2 separate regions of the Homo sapiens genome follow, and region 2 is linked to region 1. Evidence: promoter capture Hi-C in 16 types of primary human blood cells and fetal thymus (Javierre and others, 2016). All regions are on one chromosome and are shown on one strand. Each heading gives the region's core, a stretch centred on a gene start or on the middle of the fragment in contact. The rest is flanking DNA. Distances are from core to core; before and after follow the strand shown. Region 1 holds the start of COPE (coat protein complex I subunit epsilon). Region 2 holds the start of MPV17L2 (MPV17 mitochondrial inner membrane protein like 2).

Region 1 (7,969 bases), core at 3,716-6,215:
AGGTATCCCAGGGTGAGGCTGGCGGGCCCCAGGGTGGCCTCACCTGCTTCATCATGGAGTGCAGAGCCACGGTGGGGAAGCTGAATTTGCGCAGCATCATGCACAGAATCTGGCAGGTCCTGGCGGGAAGGATGTGCCTGTCAACCCCTCCAGCTCTCAGGTTCTGGGAAGGTGTTCCTGCCCCCACCCGCCCCTGAGACACCTAGCACAGTGGCCTCATGCAGCTTAGAAAGGAGAGGCAGCAGGCCAGGCACGGTGGCTCATGCCTGTAATCCCAGCACTTTGGGAGACTGAGGCGGGTGGATCACTTGAGGCCAGGAGTTCAAGACCAGCCTGCCCAACATGGCAAAACCCCATCTGTACTAAAAACACAAAAATTAGCCGGGCATGATGGTGTATGACTGTAGCCTCAGCTACTCAGGAGGCTGAGGCAGGAGAATTGTTTGAACCCAGGAGACAGAGGTTGCAGTGAGCCGAGATTGCGCCATTGCACTCCAGCCTGGGGGACAGCGTGAGACTCTCAAAAAAAAAAAAAAAAAAAAGAGGCAGGATGAGGGTTGACAGACGGCTTGCCTGCCTGATGTCCTCTCTGCTGATCCCTCCCTGGAGCTGGAACTGACAAGAGTTGGCCCTGGGACTGCAGGGCTGGAAGGCTGGAAACTGACTTGCTAGGGGTGGTCACTGTTACCAAGAAGGCCAAGAAGGAGCCAGCAGAGGAAAACAGAGGAGAAAGAGGGGCACAGGGAGAAAGGATGGGGACCATCACATAAGCTGCTGGATCCTGCCACGCCTGACAGCCACCCTGCAGCCAAACTTTTCTCTCTTTTTCCCTGAGACAGTCTCACTTTGTCCCCCAGGATGGAGTGCAGTGGCGTGATCTCGGCTCACTGTAACCTCCACCTACCGGGTTCAAGTGATTCTCCCGCCTCACCTTCCCCAGTAGCTGGGACTACAGGTGCTCGCCACCATGCCTGGCTAATTTTTGTATTTTTAGTCGAGATGAAGTTTCACCACGTTGGGCAGGCTGGTCTCGAACTCCTGACCTCAGGTGATCCGCCTACCTCGGCCTCCCAAAGTGCTGGGATTACAGGTGTGAGTCACTGCACCCAGTCCCAACTTTTCTCTTCTGGGAGGTAACGCATTTAAAGCGCCTTGATTTCTGCCCTTCTATCCTGGCTCATGCTGGAAGAGCCTCCAGCTTCTCAATGACCTTCCCAAACAATTCAATGAAGATATGAACTGCCCTCCCCAGGGGTCTCTGTCTGTGCAGACGCACACCAGGCCTGTTAGTTGTCACAACTTCCTCTGAGATGGGACTAAAGGCCCAGGAAAGCTCAGTGACACCCCCAGAACACAGCAAATGGGCTGCTCAAACAGCTGCTTGCAGGGGTTTCCTGGCCCTTCCATCAACGGCTGGGCTGAGGAACCCCAAAGGCCGGCTGCACCTTCAGATTGAGGGACCTTGGCTCCTTGAGGGAAGCCCCCATGACCTCCAGGCTGAGCAGAGGCTGGGGAGTGCTGAGACTGGCTGTGTGTCCCAGACCAAAGACGTCGGGCCACCTCCTCCTTTGAAGGGCGGTGGGAGGGGAGAGGCGGGCCCCGCTCACTTGCACGTGTTGGTGAAGATGATAATGGACCAGTCCTCGTGCTCATCCTGGAAGCGCTGGATCAGGTGGACCAGGTAGGCGTCCTTGACCTTCTCAGGCACCAGCAGGTAGCGCTGGTCCAGCTGCTCCACGGTGCTCACCCTGGGGATGGACAGATAGACCGCCACGCCTCAGTGTCCCTGTCTGTAGGATGGGGCTGCCCTCCCCACGCTGTCTGGGCTGTGGACTCACGGGGCCTGTGCTTCCCAGAAGAAGGGCTGGTTGGTGGCCAGACCCTGCAGCTCCCGGAGTGTGTCGGTCAGCGTGGCGCTGAACAGCAGTGTCTGCCTGCGGGCCGGCACAGCCGCCAGGATGGCCTCCAGGTCCACGGTGAAGTCAGTGCAGCCCTGTTCCAGCAGCCGGTCTGCCTCATCCATCACCTGCCGTGCCAATGGGGGCAGGGGTGAGGGTGCCGTCCATGGCCCCGGGTCTTGGCCACCCCTGAAGCAGGCCTCTTTGAGAGGCATGGACATGGACCCTAGGCCCTGGAGTACCCTCCTTCCAAGGGAGGCCTGCCCCTCACCCAAGTCTCAGCAAGGCCCTACCCCCGAATAACATTGCTAGGACTGGGCCCCCTCTTGTTGGTCCTTGAACGGTCCTTGTCACTGTTCCTAGCGTTTTACTGGACAGTCTAACGGACATACGTTTCCTAAATGGATGAGATGGTGCCCCAGGCTCTGACATTGGGCCTGGAGGCTCCGAGCCCAGCTCCTGAGGTCTGCAGGGGCGGGGCGAACTCACCAGGAAGCGGATCTTCTTTATACTAAAAGTGTTGGAGCTGCGCAGGTGATCTGCCAGGCGCCCCGGCGTGGCGATGACCACGTGTGGTTTCCGAGAGAGCTCCAGCGCCTGGGCCACCATGTCTGGGGGACAGAGCATGAGAGGCAGGGCTGGGCAGGTGGTCCAAAGCTGCTAGGGTCCCATGCTGGGGCTTCCCCCGCCTCCCAGCTCCCGTACCCATGCCACCGACGATGATGCAGTCTTTCAGCCCTAGAGGCTTCCCCAGGACCCGGAACTGCTCTGCGATCTGGTAGGCCAGCTCCCTGTGGGTGTGAAGGGGCCAGGCTGGGTCAGGTAGTGGTTCTGGACCTGCCCCCCATTCCCCTCTCCATCCCCAGGGTTCCTCCCTGAGCCCCCAGGCTCCTGACTTGCCCAGTCCTGTTCACAAAGGCTCTGATGCTGAGCCTTGGAGGCCATTGTGGCCCCTGCCCCCTCGCCAGGCTCAGCCTGGAACATCCCTCCTTCACCAGCCCGACCCAAGCTGACCTCAGCATCTCTTCCTATCCCAAACCTGTGCCTTCCCCCAGTTCGCCTTTCAGCAATGGCCTCACCACCAGCCAGTTGCCCCAGCCAGAGGGTCTCAAGCATCAGCCTCCTTTCTGCCCCCAACCAACTCTGTCCTGGCCTCTCCCTGGCTCATGACCTTTCCTGCTCACACACCCCCAGAATCAATTCTAACCCTCCGCCTGGCATTCAAGGCCTTTCTCAAACTGGCTCCAATATGCCCAGGTCCCAGTACCCTTTCTGCTGCCTGCCTCTTTCTTTCTTTCTTTTTTTTTTTTTTGAGACAGAGTTTTGCTCTTGTTGCCCAGGCTGGAGTGCAATGGCACGATCTTGGCTCACCGCAACCTCCGCCTCCTGGGTTCAAGCGATTCTCCTGCCTCGGCCTCCCGAGTAGCTGGGATTACGGCATGCGCTACCATGCCCAGCTAATTTTTTGTATTTTTAGTAGAGACGGGGTTTCTCCATGTTGGTCAGGCTGGTCTCAAACTCCTGGCCTCAAGTGATCCGCTCACCTGGAGCTCCCAAAGTGCTGGGATTACAGGTGTGAGCCACTGCACCGGGGCCATCTTGTTTAATTCTGCAGGACCCCTAAGAAGCGGGTAGCAAGATTTTCATGCTCATCTCACACGTGGGAAAAGGGCGCTCAGAGAGGGAAAGGTGCTTGCCCAAGAGAGCACAGCTGGTTAACCCATACCCAGGAGGCCTGCTGGGGGCTTACCTGGTGGGTGTCAGGACGAGGCAGAAGATGCCATAGGGATCCTCAGACAGCTTCTGCAAGATGGGAAGGACAAACGCTGCTGTCTTCCCACTGCCTGTCTTAGCACAGCCCAAGCAGTCTCGACCTGGGTTGGGGACAAAGCAGCATCAACACCCTCCATGTGTGGACAGCTGGGTTTCAGAGACCTTGCCCAGGACACACTGCCAGTGAGTGGCAGGCTGGACTGGAACCCATATCCATTTGACCCGAGATGCCCACAGCTTCCTACCACCTCGTTCTAACTCCGTCCAGGAGCACGTGAATTTGGGGAATCCAGAATTCCCTTCCCTCATATGCATCTTGTGCTCCCTGTTGACCCCTTCATTTGTTTATTTAATCCCTGACTTATCACATCTTAGGCTTCCTGTGGGCCTCTCTTTAATGGCGAAACTGGGTTGGGCTAGAGGAGCAGAGAGAAGACCTTCTCCTAGAGGAGCAATCACAGGACCAAGGAGTCCTGGATCTACCAGCAATTTTGACAGCCTCAACTTCTATTTGTAAAATAAAGATAGCAGTACCAGGTCTGCAGGATTTTGCGATACTATCGGACTAGTCATCCATCAAACCCTCCCTGTGCTGAGACTATGAAAATTTCAGAGATTACATCACTTGCGTACGAACACAAAGCGAGTCAGTCATGCAACCTAAATGCCAACACTGTCCAGTCGTCCTCCGGAACCCCGGATCTCCTGTAACGCCCGAGGTTGCCCCTCGCCTCGTGGGACCGGAATAAGCAAAGGTTGCGAGAAGGGAAAGGAGTCGAGAGGAGCGGAGAGGCCTCTTGGGGAAGGCCCTGGGCCATACTCACCCTCCAGGATGGCGGGGATGCAGCCGAGCTGCACGGGCGTGGGCTGCTTCAAACCCAGCTGCCGACATTGTTCCACGAGCCACGATGACAGCCCGAGCTCCGCGAAGCCTGCCATCCTTGTGGCCGCTTGTAGGGGCCCCTTGTAGGGGCCCGTGTGATCCGCGCTTCCGGCGCGCGCCGACGACGTCACGAGAAAAATCTTCCTGTTTATTGGATCTGCCTCCTGCGTGGTCCCACCCTCTCCAGCTCCCTCAGCCTATTCCCAGCCTCGACCGCATCCTTATCATGTTTCCCCGGATCCCATTGGCTTGCAGAAACACACTACAATTCCCGAGATGCTCTCCGTGACGCACTTACGCCTTCCGCCCCCTTGCATATTATTGTGGAGCTTCCCATTGGCTTACTTCGCCGCCGCTCGGAAAAAGTAAACTACATTTCCTAGCGTGCCCGTGTCTTGCTTCCGGCTGACGTGTCTTTCAGGAAGAGGAGCTGGTGAGAAGACAGCGAAATGGCGCCTCCGGCCCCCGGCCCGGCCTCCGGCGGCTCCGGGGAGGTAGACGAGCTGTTCGACGTAAAGAACGCCTTCTACATCGGCAGCTACCAGCAGTGCATAAACGAGGCGCAGCGGGTGAAGGTGCGGCCGCGCAGGGGCGCGGGGACGCTGGGGGCGGAGGCGGAGGACGCTTTCTGGTGGCCGCGAGCCGCGTTCTGCGTCTAAAAACTTTCTCTTTTCTTCTCGCGTTTTTTGGGCCACCTCTTCCACAGTTCAGTGAGGAGTAGTCACTGTCCCGTGACAGAACCCAGAGCAGTAACAGTTTACGGTACTGCTCACTCGTACAGCGTTCTCTCTGCGCCCTTGAAAGTGTTTTGAGTAAGGGAGGTGTTTATGCCACTGTAGTGACAATAAGCCTATTTTGTTCAGCCATACCTTCAGTTCCCGTGAGATGGAGACTGTTGCTTATCCTCATTTTACGGATGAGAACCCTAAAGTTCAGAGAAGGACGTTTCCCTGCCCAACCAGCCTGGTTATTTCTCCCAGAGCTTACCCATTCATTCATTCATTCTTCATTGAGCACTTTTTTGGACGGGCACTGTATTCCGCTGGACTCAGAATGATAAACACAGTTTCCCAGCGCAGTGGCTCAAACGCCTGTAATTCTGGCGCTTTGGGAGGCCGAGGCGGGCAGATCGCATGCGCCCAGGAGTTCGAGACCAGCTTGGGCAACGTGGAGAAACCATGAGTCTACCAAAAATTAGCCGGGCGTGGTGGCGGGCACTTGTAATCTCAGCTACCGGGAGGCTGAGACAGGAGAATCGCTTCAACCCGGAGGCCGAGGTTGCAGTGAACCGAGATCGCGCCACTGCACTCCAGCCTGGGTGACAAAGTTGTAAGAATTAAAGAGGAAAGAAACACGAAAGGTGGCTTGCCAGTCAAGACAGGTTTATTTTAGAGAAAACAAACCTGAGAGGCGCCTTCTGGCGGAGTTGGGTCAGAGTAACACTCTTTTACAGACTAAGAGTTTTTAAGGATTCAGGGTCGGAGAGTTTATCAGAGGCTTGAACTGCTTCTGTGTCTCTTCGTTGTGCTTATCTGGGAGGGAGAGTTGTGTGTCTGTTCCCATACATCTTTCTTTTTTCTTTTCTTTTCTTTTCTTTTTTTTTTTTTTTTGAGATGGAGACTCGCGCTGTTGCCAGGCTGGAGTGCAGTGGCGTGATCTCGGCTCACTGCAACCTCCGCCCCCAGGTTCAAGCAATTCTCCTTTCTCAGCCTCTCGAGTAGCTGGGATTACAGGCGCGCGCCACCATGGCCCGGCTAATTTTTGTATTTTTAGTAGAGACGGGGTTTCACCATGTTGGCCAGGATGGTCTCCATCTCTTGACCTTGTGATCTGCCCGCCTTGGCCTACCAAAGTGTTGGGATTACAGGTGTGAGCCACCGTGCCCAGCCTCCCATACATCTTTCTGCAGCTGCAGGCATACCCCCCTACTCTGCTTTTAGCTTGCCTATTTTAGTGCACCTGAAGGGAAAGGAATGTGCTTATTAAGGCCCACTGTTTTACTGGGGCCCGTTGTATGAAGGTGAAGTTTGGCAGTTACCCAAGAAATTTTCTTCCCACTCTCTCTCTGTCCGAGCTGTCTTTCTGTGTTTTACTGTCTCCTCTTTCTGGCTGCTTGTAGTTAGAAGTGATTTCCTGGCCGGGCGCGGTGGTTCACACCTGTAATTCCAGCACTTTGGGAGGCGGGCGGATCACCTGAGGTCAGGAGTTCGAGACCAGCCTGACCAACTTGGTGAAACCCCGTCTCTACTAAAAAATACAAAAATTAGCCGGGCATGGTGGCAGGCACCTTAATCCCAGCTACTTGGGAGGCAGAGGCAGGAGAATCGTTTGAACCCAGGAGGTGGAGGTTGCAGTGAGCCAAGATCCAGCCATTGCATTCAAGCCTGGGGAACAAGAGCGAGACTTCTCTATTAAAAAAAAAGAAAAAAGAAATTTCCTTAAAATTCATGAGGCTAGAAAGGGGGCTGGAACTTAAAGTGGCAGTGTTTGTCTGAGATGTTGGTGCTCTTACTATGTCAAAAGTGAGACCCTATCTCAAAAAAAAAAAAAAAAAAAGAAAAAAAGAATGTTTCTAGTAGGCTTTCTTGTCTTCACCAGAACCCGCCACTGGAAAAAGAAAAAAAAAAAGGCAGAGGGAGATTTGAGACACAGAGATGATGGAAGCAGAGATGGGAGTAATGTGGCTACAAACTGAGGAATGTAACAGTCACCAAAAGCTGGGAGAGGCAGGGAAGTATCCTCCCCTAGAGCCTTTGGAAGGAGTGTGGCCCTGCTGACACCTTGATTTGGGACTTCTGGCCTCCAGGACTGTGACTGTGAAGGAATACTTTTTTTTTTTTTTTTTTTTTTTTTGAGACAGGATCTCACTCTGTGTCACCCAGGCTGGAGTGCAGTGGCATCCTCCTCCTCCTGGGTTCAAGCGATTGTCCTGCCTCAGCCTCCCAAGTGGCTAGGATTACAGGTGCCCACCACCACACCCAGCTAATTTTTTTTTTGTTTTTTTGTTTTTGAGATGGAGTCTTGCCCTGTTGCCCAGGCTGGAGTGCAGTGGCACGATCTCAGCTCACCACAACCTCTGCCTCCCGGGTTCAAGCAGTTCTCCTGCCTCAGCCTCCCTAGTAGCTGGGACTACAGGCGTGTGCCACCACACCCAGCTAATTTTTGTATTTTTCCTAGTGATGGGGTTTCACTGTGTTGGCCAGGCTCGTCTGTAACTCCTGACCTCATGATCCGCCTGCCTCAGCCTCCCAAAGTGCTGGGATTATAGGCATGAGTTACCGTTCCTGGCCTAATTTTTGTATTTTTAGTAGAGACAGGGTTTTATCATGTTGGTCAGGCTGATCTCGAACTCTTGACCTCAAGTGATCTGCCCGCCTCAGCCTCCCACAGTGCTGGGATTACAGGTGTGAGCCAC
Region 2 (7,969 bases), core at 2,805-5,304, 730 kb after region 1:
GCCCTGCCCCTCCTGTACATATAGCCCTTTCCCCACTCAGCTGTGGTGTCTCGTGGCCCCGTGAACTCACCGCTCACCCTCCTGAACCCCCCCCCCCCGCCTTTTTTTAAAATTCACCCCCATCCACAGTTGTCAGTTGTGAAGAGGGGCCAGATGACACCCTAAAGCAGGCTGATCGGGCAATGGGAGGTGGCCAGGCCTGCCAGCCCCTCGGCTCTGCCGCGGTGGGCCGAGGCCGCTGTTGGGGGTTTCCCTGTGTGGACCATGGGGATCAGAGTCTGGCCTGCCAGGCTCCTCTCCCCGTTTTCTCTTTTGGTGGGGGGGTGTGCTGTGGGTATTCACCACCCTGGGACCCCCCCCCCCCCCGCCCACCAGACCTGTTCTGACCTCATGAGTGTCAAACGTGCCCCCCAGTTCCTTAGGAGATGTCATGACAACACTACACGCACCCAATAAAGCGAATGGACCATCCATGTGTGTCCCTGTGAGCACCGGGTCCTGCCCACCCTGGTTTTGATCATCCACAGCATTTTCTTTTGTTATTTTTATTTTTCAATATAAATAGAGACAGGGTCTTGCTATGTTGCCCAGGCTGGTCTCGAACACCTGGCCTCGAGCAATCCTTCCACCTCAGCCTCGGGAAGGGCTGAGATTACAGGTGGGAGCCACTGCGCCCAGCCAGCAGTTTCAGTTACATTATAGAGAGAGTTTAATGGCATTTCCACAGTTCAGGACCAGGGAAAGAAACACAGAGGCTGCCTGGCCCTATGTGAAACTTTTGGGGGCCGACTCCAGGCCTGAGCCTGCTCTGAGGGGATCAGTCATGTCCCCGCCTTAGTCCCAGGACCTGAGGGAGCTCTGGATTGGTGGCTTGGCCCAGAGCCAGGTGGATGGCAGTGTTGAGGGGCTGGTGCTTGAGACTGGTTGGCAGAGTGGGCCCTGTGCTGAGGATGGGACATCTTGGTCACAGGTCGCATGAGGTTCCTGCTGAGAAGGGCTAGGGGATGATCATCCATCTTCATGGGTGTGTTCCGGTTGAGGAAACTCAGTCCCAGAAGTGAGCTTGGAAAGGGCGGCTCAGCCCAATGCTCCGGAGCTGAAGTGGTGCTGGGACGTGGCTCAAGACCCGAGCTTGCTGCAGGAGCCCATTCCCCTTCTGTCAGAGGGGGTGGTCCGCCAGGAGACAGTCTTGCATCTGGTCCAGGAAGCAGACAGTTCAGTCTGCTCGGGTGTCCAGGGCCACACAGCCTGGGGGTGTCAGAGGAACTGGGCTCTGTCCACACAAGACAAGGCATCTGGTCAGAAGCCTGGCTCATCCCTCCCTGTCCCTCTACCTGCCCTTGGGCCAGAGGTCAGCCCTGCTCAACAGACTTGGCAGGGACCGGGCTGAGGTCACATCAGACAGCAGAGAAGGGTTGGGTCTTTTTGTTTGTTTGAGACGGAGTCTCGAACTGTCGCCCAGGCTGGAGTGCAGTGGCGCGATCTCGGCTCACTGCAAGCTTCGCTGCCCGGGTTCAGGCCATTCTCCGGTCTCAGCTTCCGGAGTAGCTGAGACTACAGGCGCCCGCCACCACGCCCGGCTAATTTTTTTTTTGTATTTTTAGTAGAGACAGGGTTTCACCATGTTAGCCAGGACGGTCTCGATCTCCTGACCTCGTGATCCGCCTGCCTCGGCCTCCCAAAGTGCTGGGATTACAGGCGTGAGCCACCGCGCCCGGCATGGGTCTTTTTTTTTTGAAACGGAGTCTCGCTCTGTCACCTAGGCTGGAGTGCAGTGGCATGATCTTGGCTCACTGCAGCCTCTGCCTCCTGGGTTCAAGCAATTCTCCTGCCTCAGCCTCTCAAGTAACTGGAATTACAGGTGCGTACCAGTAATTTTTTGTATTTTTAGTAGAGAAGGGGTTTCACCATATTGCCCAGTCTGCTCTCTAACTCCAATTTCAGGCGATCCACCCGCTTCGGCCTCCCAAAGTGCTGGGATTACAGGCATGAGCCACGGCGCTCAGCCACGGCTGGGTCTTAACTGCTAGTGAGGAGCTCTCCGCCAGCCCACTGTTGGGTGTGGGTTGTCAGGAGCACAGGAGACTCCCACCCTCCAGGGTGGCTGGCTACACTGCCACTTGGAGCTCACACGTGTAGCCCCCTGGGGAGTCCCCTGGGTGCCTGGTATGCCCTCCACACTCACCCGGTACTTCAAGTAGGACAGGTACGTGTCCCAGCCCAGCGTCAGGCCGTTGATGTAGGTGACTCGAAATTGGGGGGGCACGAAGAGGAAGTTCACGAACTGCGCAGCAGGCCACACGCACCAGTCTGCCTGCGGGGAGAGGCGGGGGATGAGGGGCGGGGCCAGAGCTGGGCGGGGGCGGAGCGGCCATCAGGGGGCGGGGCCGGACATGTGCAAGGGGCGGGTGCTCCCACCTTGTAGAATTCCCAGAACTTCTCCCGCAGCTCCTGGCAGCTCTCACCCACTGTCTGACCCTCCAGGCAGCCAAGGCCTGGGAAGCAAACCAAGAAATGAGAGTGTTAGAGGCCAGGAAGTACTGTTGAGACGACAAGATGGGCTGACGATGGAGGGGGCGGGGTTGGGCCCCTGAGAGCCCACGCCGCCCACCCCGGGCAGAGGGACAGGGACTTTCAGATGGGATGGACAGAGAATTAGGGTAGCTGGTGTAGAGACAAAACAGAGCAAGTCAGTCCCAGTGAGAGAAAGAGAGGTTATAAACATATAAACACGTGCCCCAATGGAGACACCCTGAAGTTGAGGGAGTTGTGTTACTTTTCCATCACAGACCAGGAAGCCGGGCTGGGAGGTGGAGAATGAGAGACTCCTCTATTAATACCGCTGTCTTTACCGAGCCTAGGGCTGGCACGGTTGCACCCCATTAAGTCTAGCCTCAATTTCTCTTCCTTCAGGCCTCAGAGCCTTTGCATTAGCTGTTCCCTCTGCCCGCTGGTTCCCTCTTCATGTCTCAACTGAGTGTGGTCCCCTTCTTTGGGAAATGCTCTCAACCTCCCGCCCAGGGCAGCCCCAACAGATACAGTCCTCGTCCCTCCTACACTCGCCAGCGTTCACATCGGCCGAGTCCGTCCTGTCCCCGCTGTGACCTGGCTCCTAGTCCAGGGCGACCCAAACAGGGGGCAAATTGGAAATGCACCTCTGCATCCTTCTTAACACAAAGCTGGCTCCACCCCTCCCGACCTATGAGAGGCAAAGCCTAGGCTTAGGAGGCTCCTTACCCAAGAAGTACCAGACGCCCAGCAATGGAGAGGCTACCAGCTGATCCACGAGGACCTTCTTGAGGACATTTGGGAAGCCTCGGAGGCCAGACGCAGGGAATAGGCGGTCCAGCGACAAGTACCAGTAGTGCAGGAAGGGACCCATGCTGCAGCCCACCGCAAACATGCTCGCTATAAGAGTGTAAGTCAGGGGGCTGGGTCGGGCCGGCAAGTTCCTCAGTCCATTCCCTCTCTCCCTCCCTGGCTAAGGCCTGGGTAAGCCCAATGCCATCCCGGAGCCTCAGCCTCACCGGGAAAACCGGAAGAGCCCACCCGTGCATTCTTCCACTACAAGCCCCACCAGGAGGCGCGGCTCCAGAGGCTCCTGGGTAGTGGGCAGAGACCTCCGGGGGTTGGGAGGTGATGGAGACCCAGAGCTGCGGGGAGACAGACACCCGGGGAGAGGCGCGGTCAGGGCAAGGGTCCTGCGGGGGACTGAGGCCACGGGTCAGGGGTCACGGCCCGCAGTCGGGTGTCGGGATCAAAGGTCGCCCGGGGTGAAGGACTAAGCAGCGTGGCGTCCTCACCGGAGCGCCGTGGGTCGAAAACCTGGCCGGGCCGGGCGCGGATCTCCCAGGACTGGCGCACGCCATCACCGGCCGCCATGAGCGCGCCGCAGCCCAGCGTGTTAGTGACGAGCAGCGCGCGGCCCTGGAATAGAAGCTGCCCCGCGGATAACAGGCGGCGTAGCCGGCGCCAGCCACCCCGCGCCATCGCCCTCAGGAACCAAGGAACCGGCGCGCCGCTCTGCTTTCGCCGCGCCGACCAGTCGCGAGTCACTGTCGATCCCAAATTGCCCGCCCCTCCGGCTCCCCGGCCAATCGCATAAGGATCTTCAGTCCGCAGGTCCGCCCCGAGCCGCGACGCGTTCACCAATCGCAGGCAGCCTCGGGGAGCCACATTGCCCGGCCCGAAGAGTATTGACCAATAAAAGGCAGGCGTTCTATCCCAAGGTCGAGCCCCCAACGACCTCCCGAGCTTCACGGACCAATCGGAAAAAAGAATTGCGTTACGTCCCGCATGCCGATTGGTAACGTTGCACTCTTGTTTCCCCGCCCCTTTCTGTGCCAGCCTATGGGAAACCGTCGCAGCCCCGTCCTACCGACACGCCCAGGACGGCACTGGCCAGTCGCAGACCGGCGTCACGCTGGCAAATCAGTGACCGTCGTCCCGCCTCCCGCGTTAGGGTTGGTCAATCTTAGGCAGTTACAACGCCTTCTGGCCTGGTTGCCCTACGTATTTCCAGATTCTCCTGGACTTAACCAGAAGGGATGTGATCTGTGGCCAGAAACAATTATATCCTAATTATACCGTTCCCGTAGGGAACAATTATTTTTTTTCTTTTTTTGAAATGGAGTCTCGCTCTGTCACCCAGGCTGGAGTGCGGTGGCGCGATCTCGGCTCACCGCAACCTCTCCCTCCCGGGTTCAAGCGATTCTCGTGTCGCAGCCTCCCAAACAGCTGGGATTACAGGCACGGGCCACCACGCCCAACTAATTTTGTATTTTTGGTCTAGACAGGGGTTTTGCCATGTTAGCCAGGCTGGTCTCGAACTCCTGACCTCAAGAGATCCACCCGCCTTGGCCTCCCAAGGTGCTGGGATGATGATAGGCGTGAACCACCGTAACTGGCTTAAAAAATGATTTTCAATGGAAATCCCTATGCATTCTCTACTAGAGTCGCAAACTACTGCCTGTGGGCTGTTAACTGTTGAAGGTGTGCAGGTTCTTGGCATCTTGAACAAAGAATTGGACAAAGTGCACAAACAAAGCAAGGAAAGAATGAAGCTTAACAAAAGCAGAGATTTATTGAAAACGAAAGTACACTCCGCAGGGTGGGAGCCAGTGGAGCATACGGACTCAAGAGACCTGTTTAAGAATTTTCTGGGGTTTAAATGCCCTCTAGAGGTTTTCACTGGTTACTTAATGTACGTCCTATGTAAATGAAGAGGATGAAGTAAAGTTACAAAGTCATTTACTGGATGTATGCCCTCTTTAAATGGAGAAGATATTTCCTGTCATAGCTGAATTGTTTCCATTTGATTTGGCCTTATGTTCCCTGCCTCCAGACCTATTCTCCTGCCTCAGGGCCAAATCCTGTCCCTGCCTGTTTTGTGCTGCTCATGATGAGCTAAAGGTGTTTCTTACATTTTTTAAATGGTCAGTCAAGAAGGTGGGGATTGGCCAGGCGCAGTGGCTCACGCCTGTAATCCCAAACAGTTTGGGAGGCGGAGGCAGCTGGATCACCTGAGGTCAGGAATTCAAAACCAGCCTGGCCAACATGGTAAAACCCCATCTCTATTAAAAATACAGAAATTAGCCAGGGGCGTGGTGGTGGGCGCCTGTAATCCCAGCCACTCGGGAGGCTGAGGCAGGGTAATCTCTTGAACCCGAGAGGTGGAGGTTGCAGTGAACCGAGATAGCTCCAGTCTGGGCCACAGAGCGAGACTGTCTCAAAAAAAAAAAAAAAAAAAAAAAAAAAAGGCTGTGCCTAGGGCCGTGGTCACTCACGTTTGGCTCAGAATTAACCTCTTTAAATATTTTACGGAGTTTCTTTTTTTTTTTTGAGAGAGTCTCGCTCTGTGGCCCAGGCTAGAGTGCAGTGGCGCGATCTTGGCTCACTGCAAGCTCCACCTCCCGGGTTCACGCCATTTTCCCGCCTCAGCCTGGCGAGTAGCTGGGACTACAGGTTCCCGCCACCAAACCCGGCTAATTTTTTATATTTTTAGTAGAGACAGGGTTTCACCGTGTTAGCCAGGATGGTCTCGATCTCCTGACCTCATGATCCGCCCGCCTCGGCCTCCCAAAGTGCTGGGATTACAGGCGTGAGCCACCGCGCCCGGCCCATATTTTACAGAGTTTCACTCTTTTTGTCAACAAATGGCATGATTGTGTTTCAATAAAGTTTTACTTATGGACACAAATTTGCATTTCATATAATTTTCAGGTCATAGAATAAGCCAAACGTCATTGAAACACAATCATGCCATTTGTTGGCCTGTAAAAAGTAAAACTGAAATATGGCTTTTTTTTTTTTTTGAGACGGAGTCTTACTCTGTTGCCCAGGCTGGAGTGCAGTGGCACAATATCAGCTCACAGCAACATTTGCCTTCCAGGTTCAAGCGATTCTCCTGCCTCAGCCTCATGAGTAGCTGGGATTACAGGCACCCGCCGCCATGCCTAGCTATTTTTTGTAGTTTTGTAGAGACGGGGTTTCACCATGTTACTCAGGCTGGTCTTGAACCCCTGATCTCAAATCCACCTGCCTCGGCCTCCCAAAGTGCTGGGATTACAAGAGTGAGCCACCATGCCCAGCCTACAATATGGGTTTTTACAACAAAAATTTGCCCAGTCAGAGGACACCCTTCATGGTTTTCTGATTTTTTTTTTGAGATAGAGCCTTCTTCCTTCCTTCCCCCAATTTAAAACTTTTATTTAAAGAAAGGTTTTGTTTTTTTTTCCTCTTTAGTAGAGACAGGGTCTCACTATGTTGCCCAGGCTAGCCTTGAACTGTACTGAAGCAATCCGCCCACTTTTGCATCCAAAAGTGCTGGAATTACAGGCATGAGTTACTGAGAATAGATAAAATGACATGTCCCCCTGGGCAATAGGAGAACAGTGAGTTTCGTAAAGTGGGACAAATAAACAGAACAATACAAAAAAAACCTGATCAATGCCGGGCGAGGTGGCTCAGGCCTGTAATCCCAGTACTTAGGGAGGCCAAGGCGTCCGAATCATGAGGCCAAGTGATTGAGACCAATCTGGTCAACACGGTGAAACACCGTTTCTACTAAAAATACAAAAATGAGCTGGGCACGGTGGCACACGCCTGTAGTCCCAGCTACTCAAGAGGCTGAGGCAGGAGAATCGCTTGAACCCGGGAGGTGGAGGTTGCAGTGAGCCGAGATCTCACCACTGCACTCCGGCCTGGCAACAGGGCGAGACTCCGTCTCAAAAAACAAACAAACAAACAAACAAACAAACAAACAAACCACTGGGTGTGGTGGCCCCCACCTGTGATTCCAGCTACTCCGGAGGGTGAGGCAGGGGAGTCGCTTGAACCCTGGAGGCAGAGGCTGCAGTGAGCCGAGATTGCGCCACCGCACTCCAGCCTGGGTGACAGAGCCAGACTGTCTCAAAAAAAAAAAAAAAGAAAAAGAAAGTGGGAGTTGAACAATGAGAACACATGGACACAGGGAGGGGAACATCACATTCCGGGACCTGTCAGAGGGTGGGATAGGGGAGGGATAGCATTAGGAGAAATAACTTCTTTTTTTTTTTTTTTTTTTTGAGACGGAGTCTCGCTCTGTCATCCAGGCTGGAGTGCAGTGGCGCGATCTCGGCTGGCTGCAAGCTCCGCCTCCCGGGTTCACGCCATTCTCCTGCCTCAGCCTCTCCGAGTAACTGGGACTACAGGCGCCCGCCACCACGCCCGTCTAATTTTTTGTATTTTTAGTAGAGACGGGGTTTCACCTTGGTCTCGATCTCCTGACCTCGTGATCAGCCCGCCTCGGCCTCCCAAAGTGCTGGGATTACAAGCGTGAGCCACCGCACCCGGCCAGCATTAGGAGAAATACCTAATGTAGATGACCGGTTGATGGGTGCAGCAAACCACCATGGCACGTGTATACATACCTATGTAACAAACCTGCACCTTCTGCACGTTCTGCACATGGATCCCAGAACTTAAAGTA

Evidence for each region. Contacts are between HindIII fragments. The CHiCAGO score rates a contact against its expected background, and 5 or more counts as called.
Region 2: a contact is called between the fragment with the promoter of MPV17L2 here and the fragment with the promoter of COPE in region 1, in 1 of 17 cell types (total CD8 T cells). The highest score is 6.7, in total CD8 T cells.

Annotation. Positions count from the first base shown.
Region 1 is chr19:18,916,383-18,924,351 of GRCh38, reverse strand. COPE (coat protein complex I subunit epsilon) reads left to right here and starts at 4,965. Exons shown (of 10, transcript NM_007263.4): 1 at 4,965-5,129. The coding sequence starts at 5,004. It overlaps DDX49 (DEAD-box helicase 49), which reads right to left and starts at 4,637. Exons shown (of 13, transcript NM_019070.5): 1 at 4,496-4,637; 2 at 3,649-3,772; 3 at 2,604-2,689; 4 at 2,388-2,509; 5 at 1,839-2,026; 6 at 1,608-1,748; 7 at 44-119. The coding sequence starts at 4,610. RefSeq lists enhancers at 4,363-4,962, 5,865-6,755 and a silencer at 5,043-5,232. The HindIII fragment of the contact is 20,861 bases long and covers 1-7,969 here.
Region 2 is chr19:18,189,303-18,197,271 of GRCh38, reverse strand. MPV17L2 (MPV17 mitochondrial inner membrane protein like 2) reads right to left here and starts at 4,054. Exons shown (of 5, transcript NM_032683.3): 1 at 3,804-4,054; 2 at 3,238-3,408; 3 at 2,419-2,495; 4 at 2,186-2,314; 5 at 324-1,273. The coding sequence starts at 3,990. The coding sequence ends at 1,217. It overlaps RAB3A (RAB3A, member RAS oncogene family), which reads left to right. Exons shown (of 5, transcript NM_002866.5): 5 at 1-488. RefSeq lists an enhancer at 3,910-3,959 and a silencer at 4,350-4,529. The HindIII fragment of the contact is 3,564 bases long and covers 1,502-5,065 here.